Linked DNA regions of Homo sapiens: region 1 is linked to region 2. Evidence: promoter capture Hi-C in 16 types of primary human blood cells and fetal thymus (Javierre and others, 2016). All regions are on one chromosome and are shown on one strand. The core of a region is centred on a gene start or on the middle of the fragment in contact, and the rest is flanking DNA. Distances in the headings are between cores, read along the strand shown. Region 1 holds the start of LRFN1 (leucine rich repeat and fibronectin type III domain containing 1). Region 2 holds the start of IFNL2 (interferon lambda 2).

The links. The method cuts DNA at HindIII sites, captures the fragments that hold promoters and counts their contacts. A CHiCAGO score of 5 or more calls a contact.
Region 1: the fragment with the promoter of LRFN1 here is called in contact with the fragment with the promoter of IFNL2 in region 2 in 1 of 17 cell types (erythroblasts); the score reaches 8.5 in erythroblasts.

Annotation. Positions count from the first base shown.
Region 1 is chr19:39,317,718-39,323,910 of GRCh38, reverse strand. LRFN1 (leucine rich repeat and fibronectin type III domain containing 1) reads left to right here and starts at 3,048. Exons shown (of 5, transcript NM_020862.2): 1 at 3,048-3,118; 2 at 5,553-5,585. RefSeq lists a silencer at 3,200-3,459. The HindIII fragment of the contact is 24,527 bases long and covers 1-6,193 here.
Region 2 is chr19:39,264,848-39,271,344 of GRCh38, reverse strand. It overlaps IFNL2 (interferon lambda 2), which reads right to left and starts at 2,949. Exons shown (of 6, transcript NM_172138.2): 1 at 2,767-2,949; 2 at 2,487-2,668; 3 at 2,116-2,193; 4 at 1,708-1,857; 5 at 1,524-1,607; 6 at 1,157-1,430. The coding sequence starts at 2,776. The coding sequence ends at 1,332. It also overlaps the pseudogene IFNL4P1. RefSeq lists enhancers at 5,231-5,808, 5,809-6,388, 6,389-6,497. The HindIII fragment of the contact is 23,103 bases long and covers 1-6,497 here.

The DNA of each region.
Region 1 (6,193 bases), core at 1,799-4,298, 52 kb before region 2:
TTGCAGTAAGCCGAGATCATGCCACTGCACTCCAGCCTGGGTGACAGAGTGAGGCCCTGTCTCAAAAAAGAAAAGAAAAGTCATTGTTAAAACTGAAAGAGGGGCCAGGAGTGGTGGTGCACGCCTGTAAACCCAGCACTTTGGGAGGCTGAGGCGGGAGGATCACTTGATCCCAGGAGTTCCAGACCAGCCTGGGCAACATAGTGAGACCCCCATTTCTAAAAAAAAAAAGAAAAAAAAAAAAAAGAAGAAGAAGAAGCTGGAACAGAAGAGGAGAGTCGTTGGAAATAGGGTCAGCTGGGACCAGAGCTCACAGGGCCAGATTGGCTCTATGAATAAGGCATATCTCCCTCGGTTTCAGCTTCTTTCTTCTTCCATCTGTCTCTCTTATTATTATCTTTTTTTCTCTCCCTCTCTTTTCTACTCCTGTCCAGCCCAGGCCTACCCTCACCCTCTTTCCCCATCACCCCTACCCTGTTCTGCCACATACTATCTGTGTGACCTTGGGCAAGTGACCAAACCTCTCTGTGCCTCTATTTCCCTTATCCATAAAATGGGGATGGTAATAGGACCTCTTCATTTGGCTGTTGTGTAGATTGAATGAAGTGATAGATGTGAAACCCTTAGAATCATTTCTGGCACATAAATAGTGCTGTATATGTGTTCACTTGTGTTGTTGTTGTTATTCCTACCCCCAAGCTCCAGCAGGGAGCACTAGCAACCACGGTGGGAGGTGGGGATGCTGCCTGGGTGGTGGCGATGAAGGGTGGAGTCTGGAGAATAGGGGGATTGTGAGTGTCCCCAGGGACATCTCAGAGTTGCGCTTGGGGTTAAGGTTCACCAGAAGGAGTTATCTGCAGAGCTGAGCTTGATCTGGGGGATAGGGCGGGCTTCATGTAAATAATTTAGGCCAGGCACAGTAGCTCATGACCACCGTGGTCAGGAGTTCAAGACCAGCCTGGGCAACATAGTGAGACTCCATTTATAAAAAAACTAAAACAAAACCAAAAACAAAACAGCTACTGAGGAGGCTGAGATGGGAGGAACACTTGAGCCCAGGAGGTCCAGGCTGCAGTGAGCTGTGATCACACCAGTGCACTCCTGCCTGGGTGATGGAGTGAGACTCTGACTCAAAAACAAACAAATAAAAAAAAAGAAAGAAAGAAAAATTAGACTGGGTGCGGTGGCTCATGCCTGTAATCCCAGCACTTTGGGAGGCTGAGGCGGGCGGATCACTTGAGGCCAAGAGTTCGAGACCAGCCTGGCCAACATGACAAAACCCTGTCTCCACTAAAAATACAAAAAGTAGCCAGGCATGGTGGGACATGCCTGTAGTCCCAGCTACTCGGAAGGCTGAGGCAGGAGAATTGCTTGAACCCGGGAAGCAGAGGTTGCGGTGAGCGGAGACCATGCCAGTGCACTCCAGCCTGGGCAACAGAGCAAGACTCTGTCTCAAAAAAAAAAAAAAAAAGAAAAGAAAAAAGAAAAAGAAAAGAAAAATTAGCCGGGCGTGGTGGCGCACACCTGTAATCCCAGCTACTAGGGAGGCTGAGGCAGGAGAATTGCTTGAACCTGGGAGGTGGAGGTTGCAGTGAGCCGAGATCGTGCCACTCTACTCCAGCCTGGGTGACAGAGTGAGACTTTGTCTAAAAAAAAAAAAAAATTAGGAAAGGGGTTTAGAGGAGGACCTCTGTACAGTGGGATCCAAAACGAGAAGGGTTTGAGACCCCAGGAATCTGGGGCACTGCATGAAACAACACAGATTTTTAGGGGAGAAGTTGCTGGGTTTAGGGACCCTGTGAATATCTCAGAAAGAGAAGGAGAGTGGCCTGAGATACTCAGTGGGGTTTGAGGGAAGGGGTGGGGTTCAGCTATGGGACAGGGGATGGGCAAAGGGGTCTGAACTAGGAAGGAGCAAGGCATTCTGGGCTCTATGGAAGTCACAGGGAGGGGGGACTTTCAGGGTCCAAGAGAAAGAACTGGAGCAAGAAGGAGGCAGGGTCCTCAAGGGGGCAGGACTAGTAGGGGGTGGGAAAAAATTGGGGCTAATTGGGGAGTTTTGGAAACCAAAGGATGTCTTGGAGGAGAAGGAGAGAGAAAGGTGTAAGGTCAAAGGGGTGGAAGATGGTTTGGGGTCTAATGGGGTTCATGGGGAAAGTTTAAGGGTCTTCCATAGGGATAAGAGACATTTTAGGGCCCCCTAGAAGTTAGGCATGGTTTGGAGTTCATACTGGGGGTAAGGGAATGGGTTAGGGTCCTTGAGGGTAGAAGGACATGGCTGGGGGTCCCCAAGAAGGAGTGGAATATGATTTGTGGTTCTGGTGGCTGTAGAATGTGGTTTGGGTCCCCAAAGGGAGTCAGGCACCATCTGGGATTTGGCTGACATATGGTCTGAAGTCTCCCCCGATGTTAGGGTATGATTTGGGGTCCGTGAGGGAAGGGGTGTGGTCTGGGGGTCTATCTGAATGTTGGGATATGATTTAGGGTTGCTGGTGGGGTGGTCTGGATCCCCTTGGATGCTGGGATATGATCTGGGATTCTTCTGGGTTTGGGGGCATGGTCTGGGGTTCCTGACAGTGTGTGGGTCATAGTCTGAGGTCAAGCAGGAGAGCAGGGCATGATTTGTGGTCCTGGGTGGCCCTAGAACATCGCCTGGGTTCTCAAAAGAGGTGAGGCCTGATCCGAGGTCCCCCTGGGTATTAGGACGTGATGGGAGGTCTCTGTAGGGAGATCCGGGGTCCCTAGGCCAGTTGGGGCGTGGTCTGGGGGGGTCTCCGGGGAGGCCGGCGGGGCTGGGGGTGGGGCTGGGGAAGGGTCGGGGGCGGGCCCGCGGCGGCTCGGCAGTGGAGAGGGGTCTGCGGCGGGTTCGGGGCGGGGATCCCGGGTGTGCGACCGCCCCGCCCGGCCGCCCCCACCAGTCGGCGCCCCCTCCCCCCTTGCGGCGGCGGTGGCGGCGGGCGGCGCGGAGGGCGGAGCTCGGCTGCGGCTCGGGAGGGAGGGCGGGAGGCGGGAGGGAGGCGGCCCCGCGGCACCGCGCCCCCTCCCCCGGCCCTCCCCCCACCATGGCGCGGAGCGAGGCAGCGGCGGCGGGGCCGGGCCCGGGGCCCCCCCGGGCTGGGTGAGCGCGGCCTGCAGCGGCCCGGGAGCGGCGGGCGGGGGCGCGGGTGTGTGCGCGGGTGTGAGCGTGCGAGCGTGCGAGTGTGTGTCCGTGGCGCTGCGGCGGGCCCGGCGTGCGCCCGCGCGGCCCTATGTGTGCCCGGTGCCGGCGTGTGCGGCGCCCTGCCCGTGTGGCCATCGGGTGTGCGCGGGGTGTCGAGCCCGGCCGGCGTGTCCGGCTGTGCACGCGTGTCCCCCCGAGCGGCCGCCCCTCCGGCTGTGTGTCTGGGCGCTGTCGCGCGCCCATCGGAGGGGCTGTGTGCAGGTGTGTGTGTGCGTGGGTTGTGTGCCCAGGTGTGGGTCCCCCCCAAGCCCATGTGCGTGCGCGACTAGCTGCTCTGGGTGTTTGTGTCCGGGTTGGATGTCCATCCCCGGGTCTGTGGAGCCGGGTGTGCCCGCTCGGGTGTCCATTTGTGTGTGTGTGTGTGTGTGTGTGTGTGTGTGTGTGTCTGCGGGTTGTATGTCTCCGAGGGTGTGTATCTGTGAGTCCACGGCAGGTTGCTGGCTTGGGGGCTGAGGCTCGGCGCCCAGGCCTCGGTGTGGATTTGGGGGAGGGGAGTTCGCCGCTCCCTCGGTCCATGTCAACTGGGGGGTCCTTAGCGGTCCTGGGGGAAGCGGCCATGTCTTCCCCTTCCCGGTGGTTGCGGGGGGGGGATGGGCGGCCAGGAGGTGGACAGATGGAGGGGGGATGAGAGGCCGAGAAATGGACAGATGGGCCCTGAGGTGGGGGTTGGGGGGCGAAGACCCGGCCCTTCCCCACCCACTCCACCCTAATTCCCCCACCGGCCAGACATCTGCAGACGGAGCCAGAGTTACCTCCATCCTGATGGCCAGGCTGGGGAACCTTTGGGGCTGCTGGTGGGAGGATCTCCTTGAAACGGTGATCTAGGACTCAAACCCCCAAATCCTCTTGAGTTTCCACCTGCTGAACTCTGACCTCTGGCCTGGCTTTTGCCCTGGTTTTTTGGGGGTGTGGAGGGCAGGATGCTGAATGTGCTGCAGGGATGTTAGGATTTCTTGGGCCTGGGAAGTAAGTAGGTGGGGTGGTGGGGGGGTGCCTCAGGGCTGGGAGGAATGTGTGTCCAAGACTGTGTGAGTGTGAATCTGGGCCTGTCTACTGACTGTGCTACTGTGGTTCAGTATTTTCTATGCATTTGGAAGTGTGTAAATCACAGGACTGTTGTGTGAGCATGTGTCTGTTATGAGTGAACATCTTGGCGTGTCTGCAAAGGTGGATCTTTTTGTGCCTGTGTGCGTGTTCCAGTGTGGATCAGCCTCGTATCTGTATGCTTGTGGTTTTGTGTGTGTGTGTGTGTGTGTGAGGTATGTATCTGTTAGCGTGGTGCTGTATCAACTTTGCAACATGGAGATGTGTGAAGTATGAGTGTGTCTAGGCATTTAAGAGTGTGCACTTGTGTATGTTTGCACAGGTGTGTGTGTGTTTGTTAGATGTGTGTGCCCCTGTGTGCTGGTGAGTGTGCAAGGTAGATCTGTTGTAAATGCATGTACCTGGTTGTCTGTTAGGGGGCACATGAGTTTCTCTGTTGTATCTGTGCATTTGTGTGTGTGAACTTGCATGGCAGAGTCAGTGTTGTACATGTATTGTTGCATGCAGGTGTGTCAACCTTGAGGGTATGTATCCATCTATGTTGTGAGTCTGTTTGTGTTTTGGTGTTGGTCTCTGGGGGTTGTGTATGTTCAGACATGTATGTGAAAGACACATGTGTCTGTGCCCTGGCACAAGGCTGTCCCTACTCTTGGGTTCAGTGGGTTTGAGGCCCATGTGGCATGACCTCTGGTATACTGGGGTCCCGCCTGGGGTCCCTGGACACAGTGTGTCCATATGCCAGGCCAAGTGCCCATAGAGGGCGGAGGGCACACAGATCATGTTGCTATGTTCATAGAAATCCAGATGTAGAGACTTGGGTTGTGGGCTTGCGTGGGTTCTGACATGGACACACATGTTGGTGTGGGCAATAGTATCATGGCAAGGATGGGAAACTTTGGCCCTTCCCCAGCTCTTGGTACCGTTCAGGACTTTGGAGTTGAGGGGCTGGGATGTAAACTCTTGGGTTCTAATGGAGGGCCAGAGGTCTGGTCTGGACTCTTGGGTCAGAGGGAAGAGGGGGCTGGGGTTCTTGGCTCCTGAAACCCCAGAGGACAAAGGGCTAAAGTCCTCGACTCCTGGGCTTTGGAGGGTGAACAACCCTGAGGCCTAATCTAGGATTCCAGAGAGGACTTCTGGGTTCCTGTGAGACTATGCAAAACCCGCCACAGGAGGACTGAGAGCGTGATCACACCAGGGACTTCCTTGGCCGGGATGGTCTCCAAGGCAAGATCTGGTGCACAGAGAAGAGCCAGAACGATGCTAACAAGGTGGTTCTGTTCCTTTGCAGGTGCTGGCCCAGGCCCTGACTCCCTGAAGAGAGGTGAGTAGAGCCGTAAGGCTTCAGAGAGAGAGAGACATGGGGGGTGATGGGGCTTGCTGTCAGCCAGCTGGGGGTCTGGAACCCTGCCTCGCATGGATTTCAGTTCAGGGGATGACAGTTTCCTGAAGGACCAGTTGCCCACCACTCTGTCCAAGGCTGGGGAGTGGTGACAAGGTCAGGAACATCAAAGTTGGGTGAGGGCTTGTGGTGGCCAGGTGGCTCTGGGGAGCAGGTGGGGGGTTTCAGGCCAAGAGACATTCATTCTCAGGATGGTTAAGGTGTTTGGGAAAGCAAGGTTTCCTCATGATATCAGTAAAGGATACAAGAATATGTCAAGATATGAAATGACCCCTGCATTTAGAGGGTTGAGTGAATATGTTTGCCCATTTTGTATGTGCGTGTGCATGGGTGTGGGAAGATCTCCCGATAGCCTGACCTCCTGGTGGCTGAGAAAGCTGGAGAAAATAATAAATTAGTAATAATAATAGTAATAATAATAATGATAATAGCAGCAGCTCACATGTATATAGTGTTTACTTTGTCAGGAACTATTCTAAGCATGTCATAAAATATTATCTCATTAAATCCTCATAGCAACCTTATGAGGT
Region 2 (6,497 bases), core at 1,700-4,199:
TTTCTAGCTTCTGTTACTTTACTTATAGCACAATGCATTCTAAATGATCCCTCATACACTCTCAGGTAGACCAGGCACACACACAATCCCATAACTACAATGACGCACAATCAGAAGCACAATCATACACACACTGTAGGAGGCCGAAGATGCCACCCCAAAGTCACCCAGCACCGCATCCCTGGACCCTGTGCATATCTTATGTTACTCGGCAAAGGAGCTTTGCAGATGCGATTATGGCATGTGGATTGACAATGGGGAGATCACCCTGGATGCCAAACTAACCACCTGAGCCCTGAAACGTGGAAGACTTTCTCTAGCTGGAAGTACAAGAGCAACATGGCAGGAGAGGTCAGAGAGGTTCCAAGCATGAGAAAGGTTTGAAGCACTGTTCCTGGCTCTGAGTTGGAAGGGCCTATTAGTAGGGACCACAGACAGCCAGATAAGCATGAATGGGGAAGGACAGTGAATTTTCAGGGCAGTGAAATTATTCTGTCTTCCACTGTCATGAGGGATAGAATACGTTATGTATTATGCCTCAGATCTCAGGTCCTGGGGAAGAAGCGGGAGCGGCACCTGCCATCCATCCCCAGGAGCGACTCTTCCTAGAGAGCAAGGGCACAGGTTAGCCCCCAGTAGAAGGGGTGGAGGTTAGACCACTCCAGTGAGATTAGAGGATGGCTGACAACAGGATAGTGGAGGTTAACTCCCGGGAGGATGTTACAGGACCCTCCACTGCAGGAGGACATGAATCAGCCCCTATAGTAGGAGCATGAGATAGCCCACTGCAGGGAGGGTAGAGGTTAGCTTAGTGAGAGGAGTGGAGAACCCTTCAGCAGAGTCAGCTCAGGATGGACCCATAGCCAGGAGGGGGCAGGAACCTTAGTCCTACAGCAGCAAGGAACAGTGATCTGCCAACAATGTGACTGACCCTGGAAAGAGTTTCTCTTCAGAGCTCCCAGTAAGAGCCCAGCAGCAATGCTTGGATTCTAGCCTGTGAGTCCCACAGGAGAGAAACCAGCCAGGGCCAGCGAGCCTCTGACCTGCAGACTCCCAGCTCATCAAGTGTGTCTTTGGAAGATGCTACTTTTAGCGTTGTTATGGCAGCAACACAAAGGAAATACACACCAACAGACACACAGTCCAACGTCATGAGTGTCTTTTCCTTTGTTTATTTCAACAAGGGTTATAAAAAGTAGAAAAATAAACATTTTCCTGGAGGTGAGTTGGATTTACACACACAAATACATAAATAGCGACTGGGTGGCAATAAATTAAGACAAGTGGCTAATTTATAAATAAAATCTCAGGTTGCATGACTGGTGGGAGGGTCAGACACACAGGTCCCCACTGGCAACACAATTCAGGTCTCGCGTGAGGAGGCGGAAGAGGTTGAAGGTGACAGAGGCCTCGAGGCAGCCAGGGGACTCCTGTAGGGAGGAGGGGATGGGTCAGGGGCTGTCTGGGTTCTGGGCTCCCAGTGGCTCCCCAGACCTCAGTCCCTCTCTTCCCGGGTCACTCACCTTTTTTGGGGCCTCCTGGAGCCGGTACAGCCAATGGTGGAGGCGGCCCCGGGTCCTGGGCCCTGCCGTGGGCTGAGGCTGGATCTGTGGGCAGAGGAGGGCGGTGTGTGAGCCGGGGCCTTGGCAAGGGGAAGGACGCTGCTCAGAGCTCACAGACCTGGGTGCCCAGGCCCCAACGACTCACACAGGCCCGGAACTGGGAGAGGATATGGTGCAGGGTGTGAAGGGGCTGGTCCAAGACGTCCACCAGGGCTGGGTCAGTGTCAGCGGTGGCCTCCAGAACCTTCAGCGTCAGGGCCAGCTCAGCCTCCAAAGCCATGGGGCGCTCCCTCACCTGAGGAGAGGTGAGAAAGAGCAGGTGAGGGGGGAGGTGAGGGGAACAGGTTGGGGAGCAGGATAGAGAGGAACAAGTGAAGGTGACAGGCACAGGGGAGAGGGCACAGCCAGTGTGGTCAGGTGGGAGCGGAGGGAAGGGAGAGCAGGTGTGAGGAGAAGAGAGAGAGACAAGGGAGAAAGAGACGGTGAAGGGGCCACTACAGAGCCAGGTGAGTGGGGCTGGGAGAGCAGGGGTGGGCCTGACTCCCCCTCTCACCTGCAGCTGCCTCAGGTCCCAGGTCCTGGGGAAGAGGCGGGAGTGGCACCTGCAGTCCTTCAGCAGAAGCGACTCTTCCTAGACAGCAAAGGCACAGGTTAGCCCCAGCAGGAGGGGTGGAGGTTAGACCATCCTGGTGGGATTGGAGGATGGCTGACAACAGGATAGGGGAGGTTAACTGCTGGGAGGATGGTAGAGGACCCTCTTCTACAGGAAAACATGAGTCAGTCCCTACAGTAGGAGCATGAGATAGCCCACTGCAGGGAGGGTGGAGGCTAGCCCAGTGAAGGAAGCTGGGAGTGGGAAAGCATGGTGACGCTTGGAGTGGGGGTGGAGGCTAGTCCATGGCAGGAGGGCAGGGGGAGACTCACTAAGGCATCTTTGGCCCTCTTAAAGGCCTGCAGCTCCTGTGGAGACAGGGACTTGAACTGGGCTATGTGGCAGCCCCTTGCATCCGGGAGAGCCCCGTGGAGCCTGGCGACAGGAACTGCTCCAGTCACGGTCAGCACTGCGGCCATCAGCACCAGCACTGGCGTGCAGTCCCCAGTCATGTCTGTGTCACAGAGAGAAAGGGAGCTGAGGGGATGGAGAGGCTGCCCACTGAGGGCAGGGGCTGCAGGAGCTGAGCACGGACAGAGATGTGGGACTCACCTAGTTTCATTCCTGATCTCTGGTCTTTGTCAGCAGAAGAAACACTCTGAGGCTGTCACCCAGGGTCTGTTTGGGTCTTGTCTGGAGTCTCTGTTCTTTTCAGTCCCCTCTTCTGGATCTCAGACTGTGTCCTGGCTTTGACTCTTTCTGTCAGTTTTGAGCTCTGTCTGGGATGTAATTCCTGCCTGAGCTCCATGGGGCAGCTTTTATCCCTGACAGAAGGGCAGTCCCAGCTGATGTAGGAAAAGTGAAAACACAGCCTCAGGTAAGACACCGGCCACCAGGGGAGCCCCAGGCTGGGAAAGCCCAGAGCAGGGCAGGGCTAGTGAGCCAGATGAGCAGCTGGAGGGAAAGAGAAACTGATGGAGACTCAGGGGTAACCTACAGGAAGGTATGTTCCCAGGAGGATTCCACCTGCTCTGGTTTTGTTGTTGTTTAAGACAGGGTCTCACTCTGTCACTGGAGTGCAATGGCATGATCACAGCTCACTGCAGCCTCAAACTCCTGGGCTCAAGCCATCCTCCTCACCCAGCCTATTAAAGTGCTGAGATTACAGGCCTGAGCCACCCCTCCTGGCATATATATATATATATATTTTGAGACAGGGTCTTGTTCGGTCACCCAGGCTGGAGTGCAGTGCAAAATCTTGACTAACTGCAACCTCCACCTCCTGGGTTCAAGCGATTCTCTTGCCTTAGCCTCCCAAGTAGCTGAGATTACAGATTTGTGCCACCATTCCCAGCTAATTTTTATGGTTTTAGTAGAGATGACAGTTCACCAATTGGCCAGGCTGGTCTCGAACTCTTGACGTCAAGTGATCTGTCTGTCTTGGCCTCCCAAATTGCTGGGGTTGCAGGCATGAGCCACTGTGCCCAGAGGCCATGATTTCTTTCTTTCTTTCTTTTTTCTTTTTTTTTTGAGATGGAGTCTTGCTCTGTAGCCCAGGCTGGAGTGCAGCAGCGTGATCTCGACTCACTGCAACCTCCACCTCCTTGGTTCAAGGGATTCTTCTGCTTCAGCCTCCCGAGTAGAAAGGACTATAGGCATGCACCACCACGCCCAACTAATTTTTGTATTTTTAGTAGAGACGGGGTTTTGCCATATTGGCCAGGTTGGTCTTGAACTCCTGACCTCGTGATCTGCCTTCTTCGGCCTCCCAAAGTTCTGGGATTATAGGCGTGAGCCACCGCGCCCGGCCAGAGGCATATATGTGTGTGTATATATATATATATATATATATATAGAGAGAGAGAGAGAGAGAGAGAGAGAGAGAGAGCATGAGAGAGAGTGAGTGAGCAAGAGAGATGGAGTCTCGCTCTGTTGCCCAGGCTGGAGTGCAGAGGCACCATCTCAGCTCACTGCAACCTCTGCCTCCTGGGTTCAAGTGATTCTCCTGCCTCAGCCTCTTGAGTAGCTTGGATTACAGGCATGTGCCACCATGCCCAGCTAATTTCTGTATTTTTAGTAGAGACAGGGTTTCACCATGCTGGCCAGGCTAGTCTTGAACTCCTGACCTCATGATCCACCTTCCTCGTCCTCCCAAAGTGCTGGGATTACAGGCATGAGCCTCTGAGCCCAGCCAAGGCCAATATTTCTTAATTGCCCAGGCAAGGAAGGACTCAGGAATATGAGGCTCTGCTCAAGAACTGAGGTGTGACGAAGGACTTGAAGGACACCACGTGGGTGCCGTCTTTCTTAGGGAAGTTCAGGCAGTGGTGAAGAGCATGGGTCTTGGAGATGAAGGGTCTGGGGTTCAAACCTGGTTCTGACCCTCACTAGCCGTGTGACCTTGGCAAGGAGGGGTGCATTCAGCAACGCAGATTGCTAATGCACAGATTTGGAGAAAAAATTAATAACACAATTGTTTGTGTATTTATGTGAGTGATTATTTAATAGAATCCACTCATTAAGACCATACTAGGACCTCAGTTGGAGAGTTTAAAACGTGATCTCAACGGACACTACTCCTCCACAAGGCAAGTATGCTAACCCATCCTATAGGTGAGGAAACAGAGGCTCAGAAAAGTAATTTGCCCTGAATTCCACTGTAATTAACTGGCAGGGTCAGAACTGAACCTCAGGCCACCTGAGTCCCTGGCTCGGCCTCTTTTTTTGCTGTAAGGTGCACCTCACAATCATCATACGGAAAACAACCAATGCGATCAAAACACTCTTTGATAACTGGCAATAAATTTAAACCGGGAGACAGAATAGCAAATGCACAGGAACTTCACAAATACAAACACACGTAAGGGAATCCAAAGAACCACAGTCGGTTAAGGACCCTTGGGCCTTTCACTACCAAATCCCTCATGGATTGGTGTCCCTTAGATGCCGGATCCAAGAGTCACGGATTCACAGAATCTCAAAGCTGGCTGTGGGGCTACAAATCCGGGGTTAGGACCTGGTGTTGGGGGTGTCCTGGTAACCACACAAGGAGGAACTGGTCCCTGTTGCCTGGGGTCAGCCACGGTTTCCAGAGCTCAAGTTTTTTCCTGCCATAGCAACCGTTGGAGGGTCGTACAATGCACCCCGAGGAAATATCGTGGCTTCCTGGAGAACTGTGGTCTCTTCCCTGTAGAAGGACCCGCTCCTCTTATATCTGAGACAGTGGATCCAAGTCAGGCCCAAGGCTGCGAAGAAGTTCTCGTGCCTCAGCACCCACTGGCTGAGATCCTCGCCTGGCCGGCCCAATGGGCGACAGGGACCTCTTTCGGCAGCCAATGGCGTGGAGGTTTCCGTGCTGCCGGAGGGGGCGGGGTCAGAGGCAAGGCCCTGAGTGTGCAGCCAGCCGGAGCTCCCACGTGAGCAGGCGCAGGAGGTTGAAGATCACGCTGGCTTCGCGACACCGAGGGGAGTCCTGGAGCCAGGGAGGGAGGGCAGCGGGGCTAAGCCAGGCTCTTCCCTCCCGAGAAGACCTCTCCAATCCCGCCGCTCCCAGCCTCAGTGCTGTCCGTGTCAACCTCACTCGGTCCTCCGTGCAGGCTAACCCTGTACTGCCTGCTGCACTCACAGCTCTCCGCGGTTTGTGACGCCTCCTCTGGGCCCCGGGGACCTTCCTGGAGGAGCCTGGCCGTGCCAGCTGGAGGTGGGACGCGAGGCAAATGGAAAAGGCGAAGGACGGAGCCCCTCTCTGCATCTGCCCGAGGCCCTCCCAGCCGCAGACCCGAGCCCGGATTTGAGGACACCCAGAGGACCCGACCTGGGTCTGGATCGGTTTTTCCGCTAAGCAGGACAGATTGGCAAAGCGCTGGGGCTCGCCATGGGCCTGAGGATGCAGAGAAGCTGGCGGGGGCGAGGGGCGGCGGGGCGCGGCCGTCACTCACGCAGGCCGCCACGTCCCTCCCCGCGGCTGCCAGGGGCTCCAGGATCCGGCTGGCGCCGGGAAGCAGCTCCAGGCGGTGCAGGCCGCTGAGCACTGCCTGGGCGTCCGCGATGCTCCTGGCCACGTGGCGGAGCCGAGCGCAGGACTGCGGGGACTAGAGGGCGTTAGAGGGGGCAGCGCCCAGGCCATGCCTCTCCCGTCCGCTTCTGGGCCTCACCGATGGCCGCGGAGGATCCCTCCTGGGGCGGACGGAGCAGTTGCGCGACCTCCAACTCAGCGCCTCTTCCGCCTGCGGGACAAGCGGCGCTTATCGCATACGACTGGGCCCCCTCGCCAGGGCCCCTAACCTCTGCACAGTCTGGGATTCCTGGACGTGGATGGGTACTGGCAGCGTACGGTCGTGCCT